3 separate regions of the Homo sapiens genome follow, and regions 1 and 3 are each linked to region 2. The links are contacts of gene promoters, found by promoter capture Hi-C in human tissues and cell types (Jung and others, 2019). All regions are on one chromosome and are shown on one strand. The core of a region is centred on a gene start or on the middle of the fragment in contact, and the rest is flanking DNA. Distances in the headings are between cores, read along the strand shown. Region 1 overlaps LOC105376740 (a long non-coding RNA gene). Region 2 holds the start of UBIAD1 (UbiA prenyltransferase domain containing 1). Region 3 overlaps MTOR (mechanistic target of rapamycin kinase).

Evidence for each region. The method cuts DNA at HindIII sites, captures the fragments that hold promoters and counts their contacts. A contact is called where the count stands out against the background at its distance.
Region 1: a contact is called between a fragment that was not itself captured here and the fragment with the promoter of UBIAD1 in region 2, in 7 of the 25 tissues and cell types used here (H1 embryonic stem cells, IMR-90 fibroblasts, dorsolateral prefrontal cortex and 4 more).
Region 3: a fragment that was not itself captured here is called in contact with the fragment with the promoter of UBIAD1 in region 2 in 4 of the 25 tissues and cell types used here (heart left ventricle, heart right ventricle, mesendoderm cells and 1 more).

What each region holds. Positions count from the first base shown.
Region 1 is chr1:11,376,472-11,379,614 of GRCh38, forward strand. It overlaps LOC105376740 (a long non-coding RNA gene), which reads left to right. Exons shown (of 4, transcript XR_946959.3): 4 at 816-1,065. Among named protein-coding and RNA genes, the nearest start is that of DISP3, 100 kb to the right of the region's middle. The HindIII fragment of the contact is 5,798 bases long and covers 1-3,143 here.
Region 2 is chr1:11,271,667-11,274,451 of GRCh38, forward strand. It overlaps UBIAD1 (UbiA prenyltransferase domain containing 1), which reads left to right and starts at 1,532. Exons shown (of 2, transcript NM_013319.3): 1 at 1,532-2,394. The coding sequence starts at 1,866. RefSeq lists silencers at 1,111-1,380, 1,441-1,490 and enhancers at 1,491-1,660, 1,751-1,800. The HindIII fragment of the contact is 12,769 bases long and covers 1-2,785 here.
Region 3 is chr1:11,151,324-11,154,237 of GRCh38, forward strand. All of the region lies in intron 30 of MTOR (mechanistic target of rapamycin kinase), which reads right to left. It also overlaps the pseudogene RNU6-537P. Among named protein-coding and RNA genes, the nearest start is that of MTOR-AS1, 8.9 kb to the left of the region's middle. The HindIII fragment of the contact is 5,912 bases long and covers 1-2,914 here.

The DNA of each region.
Region 1 (3,143 bases), core at 350-2,849, 100 kb after region 2:
AGTGCTGGGATTACAGGCGTAAGCCACTGCACCTGGCCTTCTTTTGACTCTTACCAGTATTTTCCAATTTTGACATTTTGAAATAATGCTGGGAAATGCTGGTTAAACCAAGAGAAACAAGATTCCTGTCCGCATGACTTTTCAGAGCCTTTAATAAATTGGATCACGATTCTTCATGCACAGAGAGATGGGATGCCAGGGTGGAGGCCTTGGAGGCTCTGGCAGAGAGGAGATTAGTACTCCATTCCTACCCCAGTTCTGCAGGGGAGCATGGCTGGCTTGCTCTTGAAGCCCTGGCCCCCCTCATCTGGATGCAGCCTACAGTGGGGTGAGCTGAGGCCTGGCTCCACACACCTCACAGGAACTCCTAGAAGAAGGGAGGCTGTCAGGTACCCCTGACCTCTTTCCTGAGCTGTTCAGGACTCGCTGGCTCACTCGGGGCAGGTGAATCCCGCTAACCCACCAACTGGCCTCACTTCTCCCTTCCACGGAGTAATAGCAGCCTCCACCTCCCAGGTCCATCTGTGCACTTGAACCCCTGGATTTCAGGCCCGGTGTTCCTCAGAGATGGCTGCTCCTTATGTGCCCTGGGCCTGGGCTGATAAACCAGAACCCATGGGTACCTCCCAACTCACTCCCTTTTGCTGCCAACTAAATTAGCTCCTGTGGGCATTCCTCCACCCCCAGCCCAAGAACAAACAGCAAATTAATGAAACAGATGGGCTCTGTCTGCTCTGCTGGCTCTCAGCACTCCCATATTCAGGGCAGGGCTGAGACTGGACTAAATCATTTCTCCTTTGCTCCTGGGCACACAGCTAGACTACATTGCTAGCCTCCCTTGTAGACAGCGACCTTGGGCCACTTGGCTGAGTTCTGGCCAGCGGAATGTGGGTAGAAGTGATGACTGGCGTGCCCACACCTGGCCTGTGACACCTCCTACGCAACATCCCGTCTGCCGCCCTGTTTTCTGCCAGCCGAATGAAGAGGATCCAACAGAGAACTCCGAGGCCCTAGGAGACTGGGGAGGACAAGTTGGAAGGAAGCTTTATTTGTTATTTTATTAAAATTATTATTATTATTATTTCAAGACAGGGTCCTGCACTGTTGCCCAGGCTGGAGTGCAGTGGTACAATTACAGTTCGTTGTAGCCTCCGACTCCTGGGCTCAAGTGATCCTCCGGCTTCAGCCTCTTGAGTAGCTGGGACTATAGGTGCATGCCACCACATCTAGCTAATTTAAAAAATACCCTGTAGAGTGAGCATCTCCCTATGTTGCCCAGGCTGGTCTCAATCCTGGCCTCAAGGATCCTGCTGCTTCAGCCTCCAGAGTGCCGGGATGACAGGTGTGAGCCACCGCACCCAGCCTAGAAGGAATCTTTAGAGAGTGAAAGACCTGGGTGGAAATCCCAGCTCAACCCCTCAAAGCTGTGTGATCCTGGGCAGGTCACTTACCTCTCTGAGCTCAGTTTCCTCGTCTATAGATAGAGGATAATGATAGTGCCATCCTTGTAAAGTTGTTTTGAGAATCAAATAGGATTCTTTGATTTGAAACAGCTCTGAAAGTTCATCGGAGCCCCAGGGCTCCCTGCAGTATTGTCTGGGCCCTTTGTAGCCACCGCATCACAGTTCAATTTCTCCCTCTGTCTAATTCTGCTCTTTTTCTCCTTTTCAGAAATCCCTACCGCTGAGTTCTGGTGGAAGGCAGTTAGTATTGGAAGAGGTCATGGGAAGCAGATTTTTCAATGGGATTTTTGAGTTGCGTTACTTGCTGGGTCCAGCAATGAGGCCCCCATCCCTGGGAGGTAGGGGTCTGTTGTGCTATAGCAGGGCAGTTGTTAAAACTCTCAGTCATGGTGAACTGGGATGGAAAATCCACAGAAGGGAATGCATTGGCAGATATATCTCAGCCATTTGAGAGATTTGGGGGAAGTAATCATTATAAAAACTGTGGAGTCAGATAGTGATTGCTGGCCAGGCACAGTGGCTCACCCCTCTGTAATTCCAGCACTTTGTGAGGCCACGATGGGAGGATCATTTGAGGGCAGAAGTTCAAGACCAGCCTGGGCAACCTAGCAAGATCCTGCCTCTACAAAAAAACGCAACCCAACCCAAACCAACTAAACAAACGAAAAACCATCCAAGAATGCCTGAAGACATTTCTGTTGTCATAATTGTGGGGGAGGGGGATGGCATGGCTATTGGTACCCAGGAGGTAGAGGTCAGCGATGCTGTTAAAAATCCTATGATGCGACCGGGCGCGGTGGCTCACGCCTGTAATCCCAACACTTTGGGAGGCCGAGGCAAGCAGATCACCTGCGGTCAGGAGTTCGAGACCAGCCTGGCCAACATGGCTAAATCCCATCTCTACTAAAAATACAAAAATTAACTGGGCATAGTGGCGGGTGCCTGTCATCCCAGCACTTTGGGAGACCAAGCTGGGTGGATCACCTGAGGTCAAGAGTTGGAGACCAGCCTGGCCAACATGGTGAAACCCCATCTCTACCAAAAATACAAAAATTAGCTGGGCATGGTGGCGGGTGCCTGTAATCCCAGCTACTCAGGAGGCTGAGGCAGGGAGAATCACTTGAACCCGGGAAGCAGAGGTTGCAGTGAGCCAAGACTGTGCCACTGCACTCCAGCCTGGATGACAGAGGGAAACGCTGTCTCAAAAAAAAAAAAAAAAAAAAATCCTACAGCTCCTACGACAAAGAATTATGTGGCCCAAAATGTGAATAGTGCCAAGGTGGTGGCGTGCATCTGTAGTCCCAGCTACTTGGGAGGCTGAGGAAAGAGGATCGCTTGAGCCCAAGAAGTCAAGTTTGCAGTGGGTGGTGAGCATACCACTGCACTCCAGCCTGAGTGACAGAGCAAGACCCTGTCTCAAAAAATAAAAGTAAAAAAGGGAAAAAAAAACCAGATAGTGATTGCTGGGGGCCTTCAGTGCATTGGAAGAAGACCATGTAAAGCTGGGGTGATTAATCACCGATTTAAGTGAGGTGTGAGATCCAGAGGCCCTCCTTGGCAGCATATATCAAGAGACTCTCATCTTCTGCAGCTCGCAGACAGAAAAACCTGAGGATCGGGCCCACAACTTAATTATAAGTGGAGCTACAGAGAAGGCTGAATTCTCGACTCTGGCAAGTC
Region 2 (2,785 bases), core at 282-2,781:
TTTCACTGATGTAAATGATGTGTAGCATACAGTTTACAAATACTAAAATATACAGTACAGGACTCTATTGTAAACTCCATATAGCCAGTTCTCACAGTATGCTTTCTTTGATGTTGTGTAGCTTCCCTATGGTCCCAATTGATCAATGAGCATAGTTCAGACATGAATGTTGGTTGATATTTTATGTTAGGAGTAAGAGGAAAGTGAAACAATCAAAAGAGATATGTCAGAACTTCACTAGTTTGTCAAGGCTACAAGCGACTTATTTGTTCAACTGGATAATAATTTGCCAATGCTGAACGAATATTTCCTCAAAGTTTTGGTGCATTCACTTACACACTTTTTTTCTCTCTTTTTTTTCTTTTTTGAGACGGAGTCTCGCTCTACTGCCCAGGCTGGAGTGCAGTGGCGTGATCTTGGCTCACTGCAGCCTCTGCCTCCAGGGTTCAAGCAATTCTCCTGCCTCAGCCTCCCGAGTAGCTGTGATTACAGGAATGCACCACCACCCCCGGCTAATTTTTTTTTTTTTTTTGAGATGGAGTCTCACTCTGTTGCCCAGGCTGGAGCCCATTGGCATGATCTTGGCTCACTGCAACCTCCATCTCCCGGGTTCAAGCAATTCTCCTGCCCCAGCCTCCCGAGTAGCTGGGATTACAGGTGCCTGCCACCACGCACGGCTAATTTTTGTATTTTTAGTAGAGACAGGGTTTCGCTATGTTGGCCAGGCTGATGTCGAACTCCTGACATCAAGTGATCCGCCTGCCTCGGCCTTCCAAAGTGCTGGGATTACAGGCGTGAGCCACCGCACCCTCCAACACTTTTAAGTTTAACCAGTAATATGAACATTTTCTCCGCCACTTTCTTAAGTCTAGACGACTTAGCAGTTATTAAGCATTTGCTGATTTGCGTGGTGTAAATTCTCCCACCATGGGCAGATTTCAAGCTGCTGAAGGATGTCACTGAATGAAAAGCTGATAAGAGGTGAGCAGTAGCACATCATAGAGTATTTCCACGGTGCAGATATGATAGACGTCAGAATGTATGCACACAGCAGGCGCTCAATAAATGCTTGTAGCATGAATAAATTAATGAATCCTACTTCGTGAATGAAAGTGCGCCCGGTAAGTCCTAAAGCAACACGCCTTCGAGTTCTTATGATGCTAAGAGAGGCTGATTGCAGTTAGTCTGGAAGTAGCTGCGGGGCGCAGTGCAGGCAGGAAAAGGGCTGGATGCCGGGTCACCGCCCGGCCCCAGCTCCTGGCCCGTCCCCGCTCCCGGTCCATTCCCGCCCCGGCCCCGCCCCCTCCCGCCCCACCACCGGTCTGGCCCCGCCCCTCAGCCCCGCCCCACCCCTCACCGCCCTTCTCCCCGCCTCTGACCCCGCCCCTCCTCTGACTCGGCCCTGCCCGCCCCGCCTCTGACCAGGCCCCCGCCCCCCACCCCTCACCGCCCTTCTCCCCGCCTCTGGCTCGGCCCCGCCCCCTCCCGCCCTCCAGCCCACCCTCCGGTCCAGCCCGCGCCGCCGGCACCTGTTTCCGGGCGGGCCTCCAGAGGCCGGCGCACAAGATGGCGGCTCTGGCGGCCTAAAGAAGGCGGCCGCGGCTCAGCCGTGGGCTCTAACGCGGGGCTGGGGGCCGGAGACAGACTTCGCCCAGGTGACGGGTAGTAGGGGCGGCGCCGCTTGGCCTCGTGGGGTGTAAGACCCACTTGCTGTTGCCCCCGGACCTTGCCGCCACACCAGCCCTGTCCTGGGGCGGAACCGAAGGAAGGTCGGGCCCTGCTGCCCCGCCCCGTCCTTCCTCCTTCCCGGGCGGTCACTGTGCGTGGCTCACTTTTAGAGTTTACTTCAACCACGTGGAGCTTCCATGGCGGCCTCTCAGGTCCTGGGGGAGAAGATTAACATCCTGTCGGGAGAGACTGTCAAAGCTGGGGACAGGGACCCGCTGGGGAACGACTGTCCCGAGCAAGATAGGCTCCCCCAGCGCTCCTGGAGGCAGAAGTGTGCCTCCTACGTGTTGGCCCTGAGGCCCTGGAGCTTCAGTGCCTCACTCACACCGGTGGCCCTGGGCAGTGCCCTTGCCTACAGATCCCACGGTGTCCTGGATCCCAGGCTCTTGGTGGGTTGTGCCGTGGCTGTCCTGGCTGTGCACGGGGCCGGTAATTTGGTCAACACTTACTATGACTTTTCCAAGGGCATTGACCACAAAAAGAGTGATGACAGGACACTTGTGGACCGAATCTTGGAGCCGCAGGATGTCGTCCGGTTCGGAGTCTTCCTCTACACGTTGGGCTGCGTCTGTGCCGCTTGCCTCTACTACCTGTCCCCTCTGAAACTGGAGCACTTGGCTCTTATCTACTTTGGAGGCCTGTCTGGCTCCTTTCTCTACACAGGAGGTAAGATTTGGCCTGTCCTGTGTGCTGCAGGTCTTAGTCGCGTCCACTGGAAACCGCTGCTTTGTAAAGGAGTTATAGGGATGTCAAAGGTGGCTTTCTAATTTAAGCCGCTTTAATTGAAGTCTATAATTGTGGGTGATGTGAATTTTTTGAAACAGTGATTTGAGAAGATCCTGGTTTGACTTACGGACGTAGGGCATGACTGAAAATTTTATATGGACATTTATTTTTATTTATTTTTTATGTATTCATTTTTGAGACGGAGTCTCGCTCTGTCGCCCAGGCTGGAGTGCAGTGGTGCGATCTCGGCCCACTGCAGCCTCTGCCTCCCGTGTTCAAGCGATTCTCCTGCCTCAGCCTCCCGAGTAGCTGGGACTACAGGTGCACGCCA
Region 3 (2,914 bases), core at 170-2,669, 120 kb before region 2:
TGGCTCAATACAGAGCTGAGACCAAAAAGAGGAACTGGTGGCCATGATGCCCTATGCATTTACTGAAGCTCCATTAAGGGAACAGGATAAACCTCTGTGTTGGTTTTCTGCCACCGAGACTTAGAAATCTTCACTCCTGGGCCCTGCTAGGGGTTCCCTTAGAGCAGTAGTTCTCAAACTACTAAGTGCATCAGAATCCCCTGGAAGGCTCCTTCAGATGGCTGGGCTCCACCCTCTGAGTTTCTGACTCAGTAGTGCTGGGATAGGGGCTGAGAATGTGCATTTGTAACAAGTTTCTATGTGACGCCAAAACTGCTGGACCAGGGGTCACAGTTTGAGAACCACTGGCTTAAAGCAGAGGCACAGCTCATCTGCACAGCATATTTTTGTAGGGATCCTGACTAGAGGTAGAAGAGAAAGCTGCATGATCTCCAAATGGTCCTTCCAACCCTATAGTTCAAAATTTACAGCTGGTGAACACAAGCAACTTGGATGAATGCATCCTTCATGCAAGCTGTCCCTCCTAACTCAGCCTCCCTCTATTATTTTTTCAGGATCAGCTGATTCTGTGCCACAGGACCAAGGATGTAGTTTTTCTTTTCATCTAGAGCAGGAAGCAAGTTCAGTGCTGAAATCCCACAAATTGTTACCCCAAGAGACAAAGCAGGGAGCAATGTAGGAACAGCAACTCAGAAGGGCAAGCCCTAGCAGTGAACTTCGCACGGCCTTCACCATGCAGCTGTGTGGGAACAGCTGTCAGAGCTTGGTCAGTACACAGACAAGAGCATTGCTCTTCCACAAACATTTGTTACAAAAAATAATGCAGAATATACCGAGTCCTACCTCTCAAGGGCGGTTGGGTGAGGGGCAAAACCAAATAAATAAAAAACATGAGATTGTTTATGGGGCAACAACTAGGATATGTTTTTCTGATACCTTTCACTACACATAGGGAGGACTGGGTAAAAGGTGCACCCTCTGAGACTTTGATTTTCTCACCTAGCGTTCTGGCAAAAAACGCAGAAAGTGCTTGCTTTGGCAGCACATATACTAAAATTGGAACGATACAGAGAAGATAGCATGGTCCCTGAAGATTTAAAACAAATAAAAAGCTTAGGAAGTATTCTTTCATTTGGAATGGCTCCATGGCTCCTCTTAGGGTTGAGGGCCTATGATCTCACTCCCGAGGAATCTGTTCTCAATACCTAGCTGTGTGGGGAACAGTTTGAGGAGGGGGTTCACTTTAGTTCACTTTGGCTGCAGGCGTGGCTGCCTGCACCATAGGGCTGGGCAGGGCAGGGGGTGCGGGTTGCCTAGCTCTCACAGCCTCCTGGAGGCAGATAAGAATGGGGAAATGGGAAGGGTCTCAGCTCACTGTTAACTCCAGATCATTCTTCATGTCACCTCTGATGAACATCTGCCTCAGGCATATTCAGGATATACGCACACAAAAGAAATTTAGAAATTGCACTCTAAACAGAATTGACTGAATAAACCGTATCAGAAACCTGCATATGATCAGGAAAAATATTCTGCTTCTTTCGACTCGTTTTAAAACCTCTTTTAGTCTCCCACATTCTTAAATCCTTTGGTCAGCATTACTAGCCACTTACGCTTTATGGGTAACTATAAAACGGGAAAGAACCCAAGAGGTCAGAGGTATTTGGGACTGAGAACGGCAACATCAGGAGATCGATATCACTCAGCTCGGTTTTCTCAACTTCTGTGAGCCTCAGTTTCTTCAACTATAACACAAAGGAATTGGAGGAAACCACATCTCAAGTCTCTTCCAATGTATCCAATCTGCTCCTACTAACCCAGCTAGGAAAAGTGGTCATCTTTAATGTGAAAGGAGAGGAGTGGAAGGGGAAGGGGCCAGGAGAGGTTTCAAGAGGGAAGAAACAGTGGAGAGGATTTCAAAAGTAGAAAAAGAGGCAGAAGAAGAGGGCAATTCAAAGAATGGAACGAATGAATGTAGGACTTGGAGAAGAGTGAATAATTTGGCCAGAGCTCAGATTATGAGAGAAGGGTTCACAGAGAAATGTGCTGAAGAAGCGGGCTGGTGCCATAATAGGAAAGACTTTGAATGCCAGGCTGTGATATTTATATGTAAATCCAATGGCAACAGTGAAACATTGCAGTATTTTAGGAATTGATTAGAGTTGAATTTTAAGAACACTTCCATCTCGTTTTATCTTTCTCATAACAAGATATGATTGTATGACAGCTGATATGAAACTAGAAAAATTGTTTTTGAAATAATGTGAATAATTCTTATTAACATACTTTTCTTTTGCCTTAGATCAGTGTTGTCCAATAGAGCTTTCTGTGATGATGGAAAAGTTCTCTATGTGCACTGTCCAATACAGCAGCCACTGGCCACATGTGGCTACTGAACACCTAAAATGTGGTATGACTGAGGAACTGAATTTCACATTTTATTTAATTTAAAAATAGCCATAAGGCCGGATGCAGTGGCTCACACCCGTAATCCTAGACCTTTGAGAGGCTGAGGCAGGTGGATTTCTTGAGGTTGGGAGTTCAAGACCAGCCTGGCCAACATGGCGAAACCCCATCTCCATTAAAAATACAAAAATCAGCCGGGAGTGGTGGTGCATGCCTGTAATCCCAGCTACTCAGGAGGCTGGGGCAGGAAAATCACTTGACCCTGGGAGGTGAAGGTTGCAGTGAGCCGAAATCACAGCACTGCACTCCAGCCTGGGTGACAGAGTGAGACTCTGTCTCAAAAAAAAAAAAAAAAAAAAAAAAAAAAAAAAAAAGCCACATGTGGCTAGAGGCTACCATATTGGACAATACAGCTTTAGATACTTGTTGGACTGAGAAAAACAACAACAACAACAACAACAACAACAACAGCTTTAGTTATATAAATAAATAAAGCGGATTTTAAAAG